Regions from separate parts of the Homo sapiens genome. Here all the other regions are linked to region 4. The links are contacts of gene promoters, found by promoter capture Hi-C in human tissues and cell types (Jung and others, 2019). All regions are on one chromosome and are shown on one strand. Each heading gives the region's core, a stretch centred on a gene start or on the middle of the fragment in contact. The rest is flanking DNA. Distances are from core to core; before and after follow the strand shown. Region 1 overlaps CEP290 (centrosomal protein 290). Region 2 has its middle 62 kb from the start of TMTC3. Region 3 has its middle 84 kb from the start of LINC02458. Region 4 holds the start of KITLG (KIT ligand). Region 5 has its middle 49 kb from the start of LINC02458.

What was found. Contacts are between HindIII fragments. The study calls those that stand out against the background at their distance.
Region 1: a fragment that was not itself captured here is called in contact with the fragment with the promoter of KITLG in region 4 in 1 of the 25 tissues and cell types used here (mesendoderm cells).
Region 2: a fragment that was not itself captured here is called in contact with the fragment with the promoter of KITLG in region 4 in 2 of the 25 tissues and cell types used here (H1 embryonic stem cells and IMR-90 fibroblasts).
Region 3: a contact is called between a fragment that was not itself captured here and the fragment with the promoter of KITLG in region 4, in 1 of the 25 tissues and cell types used here (H1 embryonic stem cells).
Region 5: a fragment that was not itself captured here is called in contact with the fragment with the promoter of KITLG in region 4 in 1 of the 25 tissues and cell types used here (IMR-90 fibroblasts).

Annotation. Positions count from the first base shown.
Region 1 is chr12:88,105,563-88,108,262 of GRCh38, forward strand. It overlaps CEP290 (centrosomal protein 290), which reads right to left. Exons shown (of 54, transcript NM_025114.4): 24 at 1,434-1,536; 25 at 1,113-1,343. Among named protein-coding and RNA genes, the nearest start is that of CEP290, 35 kb to the right of the region's middle. The HindIII fragment of the contact is 7,433 bases long and covers 1-2,700 here.
Region 2 is chr12:88,202,759-88,205,458 of GRCh38, forward strand. No RefSeq gene overlaps it. Among named protein-coding and RNA genes, the nearest start is that of TMTC3, 62 kb to the left of the region's middle. The HindIII fragment of the contact is 6,396 bases long and covers 1-2,700 here.
Region 3 is chr12:88,934,013-88,936,712 of GRCh38, forward strand. No RefSeq gene overlaps it. Among named protein-coding and RNA genes, the nearest start is that of LINC02458, 84 kb to the right of the region's middle. The HindIII fragment of the contact is 3,251 bases long and covers 1-2,700 here.
Region 4 is chr12:88,578,934-88,581,737 of GRCh38, forward strand. KITLG (KIT ligand) reads right to left here and starts at 1,538. Exons shown (of 10, transcript NM_000899.5): 1 at 1,331-1,538. The coding sequence starts at 1,345. LOC105369885 (a long non-coding RNA gene) reads left to right here and starts at 1,603. Exons shown (of 4, transcript NR_188177.1): 1 at 1,603-1,677. It also overlaps the pseudogene RNU1-117P. The HindIII fragment of the contact is 2,929 bases long and covers 852-2,804 here.
Region 5 is chr12:88,969,034-88,971,733 of GRCh38, forward strand. No RefSeq gene overlaps it. Among named protein-coding and RNA genes, the nearest start is that of LINC02458, 49 kb to the right of the region's middle. The HindIII fragment of the contact is 5,537 bases long and covers 1-2,700 here.

The DNA.
Region 1 (2,700 bases), core at 10-2,509, 470 kb before region 4:
GAAAATTATGATGTTTGCAACTTTTAATAATTGGGTTAGGCAACAATCATCAGCAGATGCTAAAATCATTAGGACTGACAAATAATTTGTTATTTGTATGGTACCAAAATATCACCAGTTAGCTAAATTGCTTAATAATGGAGGTATATGGTTATCTTTTCTTCTTCTTCTTCTTCTTTTTTTCTTTTAAGAGAGAGACTCGCTCTGTTATACAGGCACATAGGCTGGAGATCAGTGGCACATGATCACAGCTCACTGCAGCCCCCAACTTCCTGGGCTCAAGCGATCCTCCCACCTCAATGTCCCAGGTAGCTGGGATTACAAGCATGTGCCACTACACCAAGCTAATTAAAAACAAACAAACAAAAAAAAAAACATTTTTTGTAGAGACGGAGTCTCACTATATTGCCTAGGCTGGTCTGGGCTCAGGAAATTTTCCTGCCTGGGCCTTCCAAAATGTTGGAATTATAGGCATGAGCCACCATACTTGGTCTGCTTGTCTTTTCCTTAACAGAGTAATCAATTACAAAACATGGAACAACCAGATACTCTTGAAGTGATGCAATATAAAGTATAGAACACTACTTATGAAGTATTCTTGCCAAAAATGTTTAAACCTGAATGTAACTTAGGGTTCTGACCTAACTTTTAGTAATACAAGGGACACAGGAACAAGTAAAATGACACACACACAAAAGTTAGATACATCTTCAAACATTTTTTGGAGAAAAAGAAAACCAAGGGGATTCTATATTAAAAAGATTTATGAGATGTAACATCCAAATGCTTATTCTTTGATCAAAAAATGTAAAAAATGTGACTATAATCAGGGTATTAGGCGATATTAGAAAATTACTGTCATTTTGTTAGGTATAATAAAGTTACTATGGTTAGTTAAAGAAAAAAGCCTTTTTCAAAAGGGTACATTAAATATTTAGGGGAGGAATGTCTGCAATTCAAACATCCCACAAAAATCAGAAGAAGCAATTATGACAAAATGTTAATAAATGTTAACTATTAATTCAGGTGATGAGCATTATTGATACCATCCTATCTTCTGCATATTTGAAATTTTTCATAGTCAGAAAAAGCAAAATAAGAATCAGATGTACCTTAAATCTTTGCAAACACCCAATTTTTTCACAAACTTCAGCCTCCATTGACAACAATTCATTCTTTTGCTTCTCATTTTCTTTTCTAAGTTGTCGCTCCAATTCTACTAAGGTTGTATATTGCCTTATAAGTGATTTTTCATTCACTTGCAAAACAGTAATTTTCCTACTATTTTCTGCAAGTATTTTTTTCATTTCATCCGAATCCATCTGAAGAGCATTGAGCAAATTCTGCACAAAGACACATCCATATTACTTGTTGAATCTAGCTATCCTACTTTGTACAATATTGCATACTAATGTTAAAAATGTTTTACTTACATTATATTCTTTTACTTTTATAGCATCTTGTTGGACTTGATCCTCAAGTTTTCTCTTTTCCTCTTTTATTGTTTTAGATTCTGTTTTCCAGGTCTCCTTTTCACTAAAAACAAAACAAAACAAAAAGACAATACTGTAAACCTAATAAAATGTTTATAAGAAAAGATAACTTCAGATTATGCAAATTTAAAGTTTTCTCAACACAAGAGGTATCATAGCTATTCAGTATCTGAAAACACAAGAAGTTAAACTTTCATTTAAAAAGGGTTTAGCCTAGAATTAAAAATTTTTTAAATAAATGCAAGGCAACAAAGTTATCAAATTATTTTCATTCTTCCCTGATTCACCACTAAATGGGTTATAATATAATTGAAGCTGAATCTTATAAACATTTTATTGAACACAGAAAAAAAGTAGGAAAATAATACCCTATACTAATTCTAGAAATCAAATTCCAACATTCTGACCCCACTCTCAAATTTGGGTGTTAAATGCTTACAAAATAATTTGAATACAAACACATCTTAAGTCTAATTAAAATAGTGACCAAAGTTAATAACAGTATATTATATACTTTAAAATTGCTAAGAGAGTAAATTTTAAGTGTTCTTAGTGCAAAAAAAAAAAAAAATAAGAAGAAGTATGCTGTAATCCCAGCACTTTGGGAGGCCAAGGTGGGCAGATTGCTTGAGGCTAGGAATTTTGAGACTAGCGTGGACAATATGGCAAAACTCCGTCTTTACCAAAAATACAAAAATTAGCCAGGCGTGGTGGCACATGCCTGTAATCTCAGCTACTTGGGAGGCTGAGGCAAGAAAATAACTTGGACCCAGGAGGCAGAGGTTGCAGTGAGCCAAGATAGCGCCACTGCACTCCAGCCTGGGTGACAGAGCAAGACTCTGTCTCAAGGAAAAAAAAAAAAAAGTATGCGAGGTAATACATATGTTAAGTAGCTTGATTTAGCCATTCCACAGTATATACATATATAGAACACCATGTTGTATAGCATAGTATATACATATATAGAACACCATGTTGTATAGCATAGTATATACATATATAGAACACCATGTTGTATACCATAAATTCTTGTGAATTTAAAAAGTAATTTAAAACATATTTATATATAAATTATTTTTTTGAAGTTGTGTAAGACACTGTTGTCTACACATGAGCATTCCACAAACATGTGTAATGTTCTTGGCATAAACCCAGTATAGCGGTATCATTCTCTTTGCAACTGAATGGTTCAGACTTGGACATGTGA
Region 2 (2,700 bases), core at 183-2,682, 380 kb before region 4:
GCAGAAAAATATGACTAATAAGACAAAAATAGCAGCATACATACCAATTATCCGAATAAATACTAAGGTTACCAAATACTTTAAAATAACTATAGTAAAAAGAAAAGACTATTAGGGCATTCTTGCATTGGTGTGGAAAAAAAAAACAGACTGAGTAATTTATTTTAAAAGAGAGGTTTAATTGGCTCACAATGTATAAGCATGGTGCTGGCATCTGCTTGGCTTCTATGGAGGGCTCAGGGAGCTTTTACTTATGGTAGAAGGTGAAGCAGGAGCAGGCACACCATATGGCAAGAGCAGGAGCAATAGGAGTGGGGGAAGCACCACACACTTTTTAAACAACTAAATCTCATGATAACTCACTCACTAGTGAGGAGATCACCAAGTGGATGGTGCTAAACCATTAATAAGAAATTCACCTTTATGGTCCAGTCACCTCCCACATTAGAGATTACAGTTGAACATGAGATTTGGGGGGACAAATATCAAAATTATGTCAATCCATCCCTGGCCCCCCAAATTTCATGTTCTTCTCACATTGCTAAATATAATCATGCCTCCCCAATAGTCCGCAAAAGTCTTAACTCATTCCAGCATTAACTCAAAATTTCCAGGTCAAGTCCCTTCTACCTATGAGCCTGTAAAATCAAAACAAATTATTTACTTCCAAGATACAATGGAGATACAGACATTGGGTAAACATTCCCATTCCAAAAGGGAGAAAATGCCCAAAAGAAAGGAGCTACAGGCCCCTCACAACTGCGAAATCCAGCAGGCCCATCATTAAATCATAAAACTCCAACATAATCTCCTTTGACTCCATGTCCCATATCCAGGGCACACTGATATGAGGGGTGGGCTCCCAAGACCTTGGGCACCTCTACCCAATGGAGCTTTGCAGGATTTAGCCCCTGAGGCTGCTCTCATGGGTTGGAGTCAAGTGTCTGTGGCTTTCCAAATGAAGGGTGAAAGTCTCCAGTGGATCAACCATGTTCAGGCCTGGAAGATACTGGTCTTCTTCCCTTCCCACAGTTTCACTAAGCAGTGTCCCAAGTGAAAATTCTGGGTGGGGCCTCCAACCCCACATTTCCCCTCTGCACTACCTTAGTAGAAGTTCTCTGTGAGGGCTCCACCCATGCAGCAGGCATCTGCCAGGACCCCATGGTTTTCCATACTGATATGGTTTGTCTGGGAGGTAATTGAATCATGGGGGCAGGTCTGTCCTGTGCTGTTCTCATCACAGTGAATACATTTCATGAGACCTAATGATTATATAAGGAGAAGTTTCCCTAAACAAGCTCTCTTCTCTTGTCTGCCACCATGTGAGATGTGCCTTTCATCTCCCGCCATGATTGTGAGGCCTCCCCAGCCACGTGGAACTAAGTCCATTAAACCTCTTTCTTTTGTAAATTGCCCAGTCTCGAGTATGTCTTTATCAGCAGTGTGAAAACAGACTAATACAGTAAATTGGTACCAGTAGAGTGGGGTGCTGCTAAAAAGATACCCAAAGATGTGGAAACAACTTTGGAACTGAGTAACAGGCAGAGGTTGGAACAGTTTGGAGGGCTCAGAAGACAGGAAAATGTGGGAAAGTTTGGAACTCCCTAGAGATTTGTTGAATGGCTTTGACCAAAATGCTGATAATGATATGAGCAATGAAATCCAGGCTGAAGTGGTCTCAGATGGAGATGAGGAACTTGTTGGGAACTGGAGCAAAGGTGACTCTTGTTATGTTTTAGCAAAGAGACTGGAGGCATTTTTCCCCTGTCCTAGAGATCTGTGGAACTTTGACGTTGAGAAAGATGATTTGGGGTATGTGGCAGAAGAAATTTCTAAGCAGCAAAGCATTCAAGAGGTGATTTGTGTGCTGTTAAAGGAATTTAGTTTTTAAAGTGAAAAAGAGCATACATGTTTGCAGAATTTGCAGCCTGACAGTGTAGTAGAAAAGAAAATCCCATTTTCTAAGGAGAAATTCAACCCAGCTGCAGAAATTTACATAAGTAACTAGAAGCCAAATTAATCCCCAAGACAATGTGGGAAATGTCTCCAGGGCATGTCAGAGGTCTTCATGGCAGCCCTTCCCATCATGGACCTGAAGGTCTAGGGAAAAAAAAAATGGTTTAGTGGGCCAAGCCCAGAGTGTCTGTGCTGTGTGTAGCCTAGGGACTTGGTGTCCTGTGTTCCAGCCACTCCAGCCATGACTAAAAGGGACCAAGGTACAGCTCGGGCCATGGCTTCAGAGGCTACAAGCCCCAAGCCTTTGCAACTTTCACATGTTGTTCAGTCTGCAGGTACACAGAAGTCAAGAATTGAGGTTTGGGAACCTCCGAGTAGATTTCAGAAGACGTATGGAAACGCCTGGATGCCCAGGCAGGTTTGCTGCTGGGGCAGGGCCCTCATGGAGAACCTCTGCTAGGGCAGGACAGAAGGGAAATGTGGGGTTGGAGCCTCCACACAGAGTCCCTACTGGGGCACTGCCTAGTGGAGCTGTGAGAAGAGGGCCACCATCCTCCAGAACCCAGAATGGTAGATCTACCAACAGCTTGCATTGTGCACCTGAAAAAGCTGTGGACACTCAACACCAGCCCATGAAAGCAGCCAGGAAGGAGGCTGTACCCCAAAAAGCCACAGAGGCAGAGCTGCCCAGGACCATGAGAACCCATCTCCTGAATCAGTGTGACCTGCATGTGAGACATGGAG
Region 3 (2,700 bases), core at 166-2,665, 350 kb after region 4:
TTTGCAAATTTTGACAACAGTAATTGACATTTATCCACCATCCCATCTGCTACATATTTGGATTAAAAAAAAAAAGATAGGCTTTCTTTCAATATGCTCAAAAGACAGAACGGGCCTGGGAGAAAAAGCTGACACAAATATATCACACATTTTGAAAGTTGCCAGGTACCTTTGCTTCTCGTGGGTCAATACTTTTAAAACAACATCCTTCTCTAGAGAATCTTAACATTAAAGGAGTTCCCACTCTGTTATTAGAGCAAAATAATGGTATAAAACAGTCTCTTTCTTGAATTTAGTAGGGTGCTTGACCTGTCAGGCTGCAAAGAGAGAAGCTTGGTTACTGCCATTTTGTGATGGTCAGCCAAATGGTTTTACAAAGAAGAGGAAACTGTGGGTAGATGAAAGTTCTGCCTATAAAGTAGGTGTTACTACAGTGCATTGTGGTTATATTAAGTATGCCCAAAGGATAAGGAATTCAGGTGTGAAGTTGTGTGGCAGAAGTTGAAAATTAATTAAGCTCTGTGTTTAGGGTTTTTTTCCTTTAGTGTGCCGTAGTAACATGCCCTTGGCTCCAGGGAACTTTATGACTAAGTTGGAACAAAGCACTCATGACTCATGTTAAATGTAGCAGAGGAGAGATCATTAAATGTTTCTTGGCAATTAATTACCTGGGATATGCCTCTTTTTTCATAGCTTTGGTTTCAGGTGTGTGAGAGAGTTGAAAACGTTTAATTGCACCTAATTTGTTGCTGTAGTTTTATCATATGCCTAAGCATTGTGATAATGCCTGTAACCCGTGTGAAGAATTCGTAAGGGGCTTCATTTGTGACACCCCCAGAGGAGGGAATTTTTTTTTATGTTTGTGCAATAATCATACCTGACCTTTGATCCACTTTCTAATATAAAGAAAATTATGAAAACCTGCCAAATATGTACTAGATCCAGAACATCCTGGAAAGAAAATCCTTCCTACTTCTCCGGCAGTCTTTCCTTAATTAGATGTAGCCATTTTCCTCACTCCTACCCACCTATTGGTCCAGAACCTGAAAGAAATTTCTTCCCAGCTAGAAGCTGAAAGACAGATTGAGGGTAATCATTCCTTTGCATCTGGCCGATTTCAGTGTATTCTGCTGGTCACTATGTTATTTTCAATCACCTGAGATCTGATTACTTCTCCCCATCTTGCTAGCTTCCTGTTTTCTAGAACTCTAGTTTGATCACTAAATCTAAGCATTTTTACTTTCTGGCTTGAAGATAGTCTTCTTGTTTTCATGTGCTCTCTATTTTTTTCCATAGCACTTAGAACTAAAATCACATTATTTACTTGTTTAGTGTCAATTATTTTTTGCCTGTTTTCTCTCACTAGAGACTCCACAAGAGAAGGAAGGGAATTTGTCAGTCTTATTGACTGTTAAATCTCCAACATCTATTTCTGGGTCTACCACTGAGTATTTATGCACTCAGTTGGAAAGGGGTGGATGAATGAATGGATAGATGGATAGATGAGAACCTGACATCTTCTAATCTTCTAGGCGCTATTCTGGATTTGTTCATTTGCCTCCATTGGAGTTCATATCAACTCCAGTAGAGTATTTCTTATGTAACCCAAAATACATATTTTAGGCACTTGCCAAAGGCTTTCAGTACATAGTGGAGGCAAAAAGAAGTTAAAATAATTTAGAATCTGCTAAGAAAGCTCAAGGTGAATGTAACATGAGAATGAAGTCTGAGTGGTATTTAACCAGATGGGTGATTGTCAATGAAACATTGCCAACAGATAAGCAGGATTGAGGATCATAAATTTTGGCAGAGCTGTTCCTGGTGACATTGCCCAAGAGACAATGGGTATAATGGATAGAAAATGAGAATCATTGTTTTCCAGATCAAACGGAATCGATGTCTTCCACTCAGCCATACATCCAAATGCATGAATGAAGGACCAAGCATAAATAAGAGCAAAGTAGCTCTTTAAGCTACTTTGAGCTACTTTAAGCTACTTTAATCTACTTTAAGCTCTTTAAGCTACTTTCATAGTAAGCACTTTAAGCCAAAGCCTTAACTGGATATAAGCAAATATAGAGAGATGACAAAGGGGCCTTGCAGTTAGAATAAGATTTCACTTACTCTTCATAAGAAAATTTTCAAGGAGATAATGTCCAAATTTATAGGAAACTAAAGTTCTGACAGGCTTACTAACGTACTCCAGGTCACACAAGGATAAATGTGTGATTCATACCCCAATACATGCTGTTTTTACTCGCCCAGGAAGAGTAAATGGTGTCGTTTCCCCTTCAATTCTGGTTGGTTCATAGAAAAAAGCCTCAAGACCACTGTTGAATCTCACTCTGACTACAGCAGGATCCATGGGAATGGGTGGAGGGCAGGGTGTGTCTGCTAGGAGATGGCAACAAGGAGTGGCAGTACCCACTCCATTTACCATCTCTGAACACGTTATCTCATTGAAAGAGCTCCCAGACAATGTTTCTAAGGTGTTTGGGAATTTGGGGACGAAAGAAGCTATATGAAGAATTACTAATAAGTTTAGTATAGATAGTAAATCTGATGAGGTATTTCTATCTAAATAGACAAGTTTACGTTTTACGAGACTTTATGAGGAAACGCTGTGTGGGAAATAAAATGAAGTATTTTGCCAAATTTTCTTAATTTTTGTTAATTGTAAAGGAGAATGTACTCAGAACA
Region 4 (2,804 bases), core at 288-2,787:
GATTCCAGGTGCGGTGCTCAATGCCTTGCCTGAAAGCTAACCTGCTTGTAAGAGAGGGGAGAGGCACATCGCGTCTTTTCTCTTAGAGAGTGCTCTAGAGACTATGCAAGCCTCTTTTAGCCAGGCAATGTCCCTTTCCCCTGCCTTTTACCACACCGGTACAAGGGGCTAGAGTCTTGCAACTTTTTGCAGGCCTAGATATCTGTTTAAAATATGATGCTAAGCAGGTCATTTGATAAAGCATTTTGAGCACATTGATGCCTTCATTCTACACCAACGATGTGTACAAACACCCCGGTTTCCTTTTTCCCCACCACTTCCACCCCTTCCACACATTTCAGGAACTGCAATCTCCAACAGAACCTCTGGGGGGTGAAAGGGCAACCCTTAGCCAACCGCGGCAGATAACACATAACAATTTCTAAGGGGGAAAGTGAGAGGAGGTAACAATCAACAATGGTGAAGAGAACTGTGGATAGGGGCACCGTGGCGGCCCTTTCTAAACGAAGAACCAGGTATTTTCTTCAAGGGAAAAAAAAATCTAATTGTCCCCCCAGGCAGCGCTTTACCCACAGTGCTTTATGTATAATGCAGAATTTAGCAGCACTGGGAATTATCTCAATCACTATCATTCAGAGGTGCCTATTTTATAAAAAGCCTTTATCCCTTTTGAAATGGAAAAAGGTGCGTGCATTGTGGAGGTACTAGAGCTCTTTAGAGCCCACACAGAGCTGCAAACTAGGCAGACACCGCCGAGAGCCAAGTTTCCCGGGCAGGCGGGCAGGTTCCCGCCCCGCCGAGAGCTGCCGCTTAGGAGTTCCGCGTTGGCTTCGCTCCCGCGGCTGCACCCGCGTTCGCGCCGCTCCTGGTGCCCGGCGCCCACCTCGGGGCTACACAAATAAATCTGAGTGAGAGAGCTAGTGAGGGTGGCGCGTGGGGTGCTGTTTCATAATCTCCTGGAATCCACGGGAAAACCGTCTCCTATGCAAAGACATGCCTTCCCGTGATAACTTAACATTCCATGGCCCAAAAGCCAATCTTTCCACCAGACGGGAATTACGGTTTCCGACTGACAGCTCAAAACTTAACTGCTGAGGCTCCAAACTTGACACTGGCTCCCTCTCAGCACTCCCACTCCTTTTCTCCCTGGCTCACCCGGCTCGGCTCGGGATCACACACCACGCCGGCCTCCCCCGCATCCTCTTGTCTCACCCGGCAGGCACAGCCCTGCACGCCCCAGCTGCAAGTCCCAGGGAGCGCCGGCTTCCCCGGGGCACCGGGCGCGATTTTTCCTGGAGAGCCTGGGAGCTCCCGGGCGCGCCCTACTCACTTGTGTCTTCTTCATAAGGAAAGGCAGCGCTGCGATCCAGCACAAACAGTGGTGTGGCGACTCCGTTTAGCTGTTCTGGAGCTCCAGCATATTGCACGAACAGCGGCGGCAGATAGTCCACGCATTGGGTAGCCCGAGCGCAGCGCCCTCTCCACTGTCCCTGCTTCCCGCAGCGCTTCTAGTCTCGGCGCGAGGCGGCGAGCGAAGCCCGGCTGCTGAGCCGCCGGCGCTTTTATACAGTTCCCGCCCGCCTGCTCCGGACACGCCTCCTTCCCTTCCGGAGCCCGGGGTAGGCGAGAAGCAGGCAAGGGCGCGGAGGGAAGAATCGGGAGGGCGGCCAGAGCACGGTAAATGCCCCAGAAGTTTGGCAGATTAGGCCAACCTTGTCCGCTCGCCTGGGGGCCCCGGACCTGCACTGGCGGGAGACCGCGAAGGCGCGGGGACGCAGAGGGCGAAGCTTGGTACCCTGCAGCTACTGCTCGCGAGGAGTCCCAGCTTACCCTCCCGGATCCGCTGGGGCTCACCTGGCACCCCCGGGGACAGACGAAATACCTCGCGCGCCAGAGAGGGCTCGGAGCTCCCTCTGTTATACAAAGTCGGAGAGGGAGAGGAGTCCGGGAGGTTCGGAGCAAAGAATTCACCCTGCCTGCCTTAGAGAAATAAAGTTTAATTGCGATCTGTAGTTAGGCCATTGTCCTATCACCTCTATTTTTTAAAAAAAACAATTACTTTAGTGAATGAATATTTAATAATTACAAGAATTGTTGACTCAAGGTTAAGTATTGCAAGGGGAGACGCTTCATTTGGAATGGTTTGTTACTGTGTCTTTAGAAATTAAGATTGAAAGAGAAGCGATAGATTATTAAACTACAGGTCGCCAACACAGCAAGGCTTTGAAAGTTGTACTTTTTTGAACGGAAAGATAATGCAACCACAATAATAATAGCTAACATCATTATGTGATGCACTTATTCATGTGCCAGGTGCCAGACTAAGAACTTCGCATAGATTATCTCATTAAATTCTTTCATCAAATCTATTAGTGTAGATCTTATTATTTTATTCCCATTTTATGGACGATGAAATACAAGGTTAATTTTCTTGACCAACCATATCTAGTAAATGGCAGAGCTCTAATTTAAACCTGGAGCTCCAGCTGTACAGTCTTAAAAAATACTTCAAATATTTTATTGATTCTCCAGAATGTGTCTGTTTTTGTTTGTATAACTGGAGAACATTCCAAAGCATTTCATTAATTTTTTAAAAGAAAATATTAGCTGAACATTAACATCAGTGATCTTTAAAAGAAAGAATAATGTATGAGTTTAGGAATTAGTTATTTTAATAATAGAGTAGGAGTCCAAATTTGCTTTAATTAGTTCCGGTGCGTTTGTTAAACATGAATATGCCAAACCTGTAATCAGGGCGAAGCTTGTTTATTTCACTCCAGATGTGCTGACTTCTGTGATTTCCC
Region 5 (2,700 bases), core at 155-2,654, 390 kb after region 4:
CCTGGATATGTTAATGGCCACAAAGAGAATTGCCAAAGTTTTGGGGGTGTTAATAAAACAAAAATTAGTTTTGTATTCATGTCACAACCTGATGCAGGTTAGGTGGCTCTGTTTGGTAATTTTCCCCTCCTGGTATTTTAGGGATCTGGGCAACTCCCATTTCTGAACTGTTTCTGAATTTATTTTCAACCACATAGAAAAGAGAGAGAAAATGTGGAGAACTCCTATTCTGCCTTCAGCAACCTTGGACCGGAAGAGAAACATCACTTCTCTCCACATTTCCATTGGTGAGAACTCAGTCACATGCTCCCAATGGACTTACTAGCTCTATCTCAGGTTACAGTAAGAGTCCACTGGGACTTACTAGCGCTCTCTGTGTAGTCTGACTGTGTGCCAGAAAGAAGAAGTATAGCACTGTTTGGTTCAGAGACCCGTAATTCCAGCTACTTGAGAGGCTGCGGCAGGAGAATCGCTTAAACCCAGGAGGCAGAGGTTGCAGTGGGTCAAGATCACACCTTGAACTCCAGCCTGGGCGACAGAGTGAGAGTCTGTCTCAAAAAAAGTGTTTTATTCCTAAAAACTATTGACAGAATAGTCATTAAATTATTTGATTGTTAACTCTGTACTCCAGACATGACATATCATTGGTAATGATCTGTATTGTTCATAAAATTTTTTCTAGTGGAAATATAATGTGAGCCACATATTTAACTTAAAATATTCAAGTAGCAATATTTTTTAAAAGAAAAAGAAACAACTGAAATCAATTTAATGTTTTATTTAATTTGATATATTTCAAATATCATTGAAACATGTAATCAATATAAAATATTAATGACATTTTTAATAATCTTTTGTTGTACTAAGTCTGAAATTTAGTGTGTGTGATGGTTAATATTGAATGTCAACTTGAATGGATTGAAGAAAGCAAAGTGTTGATCCTAGCTGTGTCTATGAGGGTGTTGCCAAAGGAGATTAACATTTGAGTCAGTGGACTGCTAGAGGCAGACTCACCCTCAATCTGGCTGGGCACCACCTAATCAGCTGCCAGCGTGGCTAAAATAAAGCAGGTAGGAGAAGGTGGAAGAGCAGACTTGCTGAGTCTCGGCCTTCATCTTTGTCCTGTGCTGGATGCTTCTTGCCCTCAAACATCTGACTCCAAATTCTTCAGCTTTTTGACTCTTGGACTTACACCAGTGGTTTGCCACAGACTAAAGGCTGCACTGTTGGCTTCCTTATTTTTGAAGTTTTGGGACTTGGACTGAGATACTACTGGCTTCCTTGCTCCTCAGCTTGCTGACAGCCTATCGTGGAACTTCACCTTGTGATCATGTGAGTCAATTCTCCTTAATAAACGCCCTTTGATATGTACATCTATCCTATTAGTTCTGCCCCTCTAGAGGCCCCTGACCAATACAGTGTGTATTTTACACTTAGAGCACATCACAATTCATACTAGCTGCATTTTGAGTATTCAGTAGCCAGATGTAGCTAGTGGCTAGCATATTAGACAGCTCAGGTTTAAAACATGGATGAGTTGGTAAAATTTATATTGTTTATAACACAGATAGGAAGGAAGAAAATATGGTGTTCAGAACAACAGTTTATGAGAGCCAGGAAGGTTTATGCAGTAACTGTCTAAAGAAACCTGAAAACAACAACAAAAAAAAGTAAAGGCTGTGTATAAATATCAAGTTCAGCTTCACAAATAAACATAGATCCCTTTAAGACACTGTCTGAAACATTTATACAGGATTACTTTTGTTTATAATTTGCGTCAATATATTTTAGATTGCCTTGTTTACAGGGTGGAGAGTTCTTAATATAATAAGCCATCACAATAGCAAATGCAGTGACTTTTTGGCCTTGCAGAGAGGAAATCCTATACTATAAGGGGCTGCAGGACCTCAGGGTGTGGCCCTGTTATTCTGCAGAACATGCCAGTTAAAGTAGTCAAGGCTTAATTCAGAGCCAAAATAAAAACAGTGACTGCCTAGGTTGAACTTTGTGTGTTTAGAGGAGGAAGTCTGAGAATAGAGAATATATTTCATCAAATCACAAACTACATTCTTAAAATTTTATTTCATTTAAGATTCAGGGGGTACATATGAATGTTTGTTACATGATATTGCATACTGGTAGGGATTAGAATTCTAGTGTACCCATTACCCAAATATTGAACATGGTAACCAATAGGTAATTTTGCAATCCTCACCCTCTTCCCACTGACCCCCTTTTGGAGTCCTCAGTCTATTATTTCCATCTTTATGTCCGGATGTTCCCATTGACAAACCACGTCTATTAAGCACCTAACATATTCAGCTCACTTTTTTTTTCCCTCTAGGATTTATAGTTTCATAAACAAGTTACACAAACCAGTATCTAATCCACAACTAATCAAAGTATTTCAGAATGCTGTTCATTATTCTTTTTTTCCTTAGGGAGAGTTCAAGGCTCAGAATAAATCAAGTCCCTTTGTGTTAAGAAGCACATCAGCCTTTAACAAATGCAGAATTACTGGGAAAGGAGTAGTATACATAGGTAAGAGAAATGTAACCCTCTGATCTCTGTGCTGTGAATTTTTAAGCAAAGTCAGATAAATAGCTAAAGATATCAGAAAGTACTGGAATGTAAGACAGAGTGTTAGGACCCAGGGACATTGATTTATGTGAACCTGTGTCAAGGAGGATTTAAATTAAA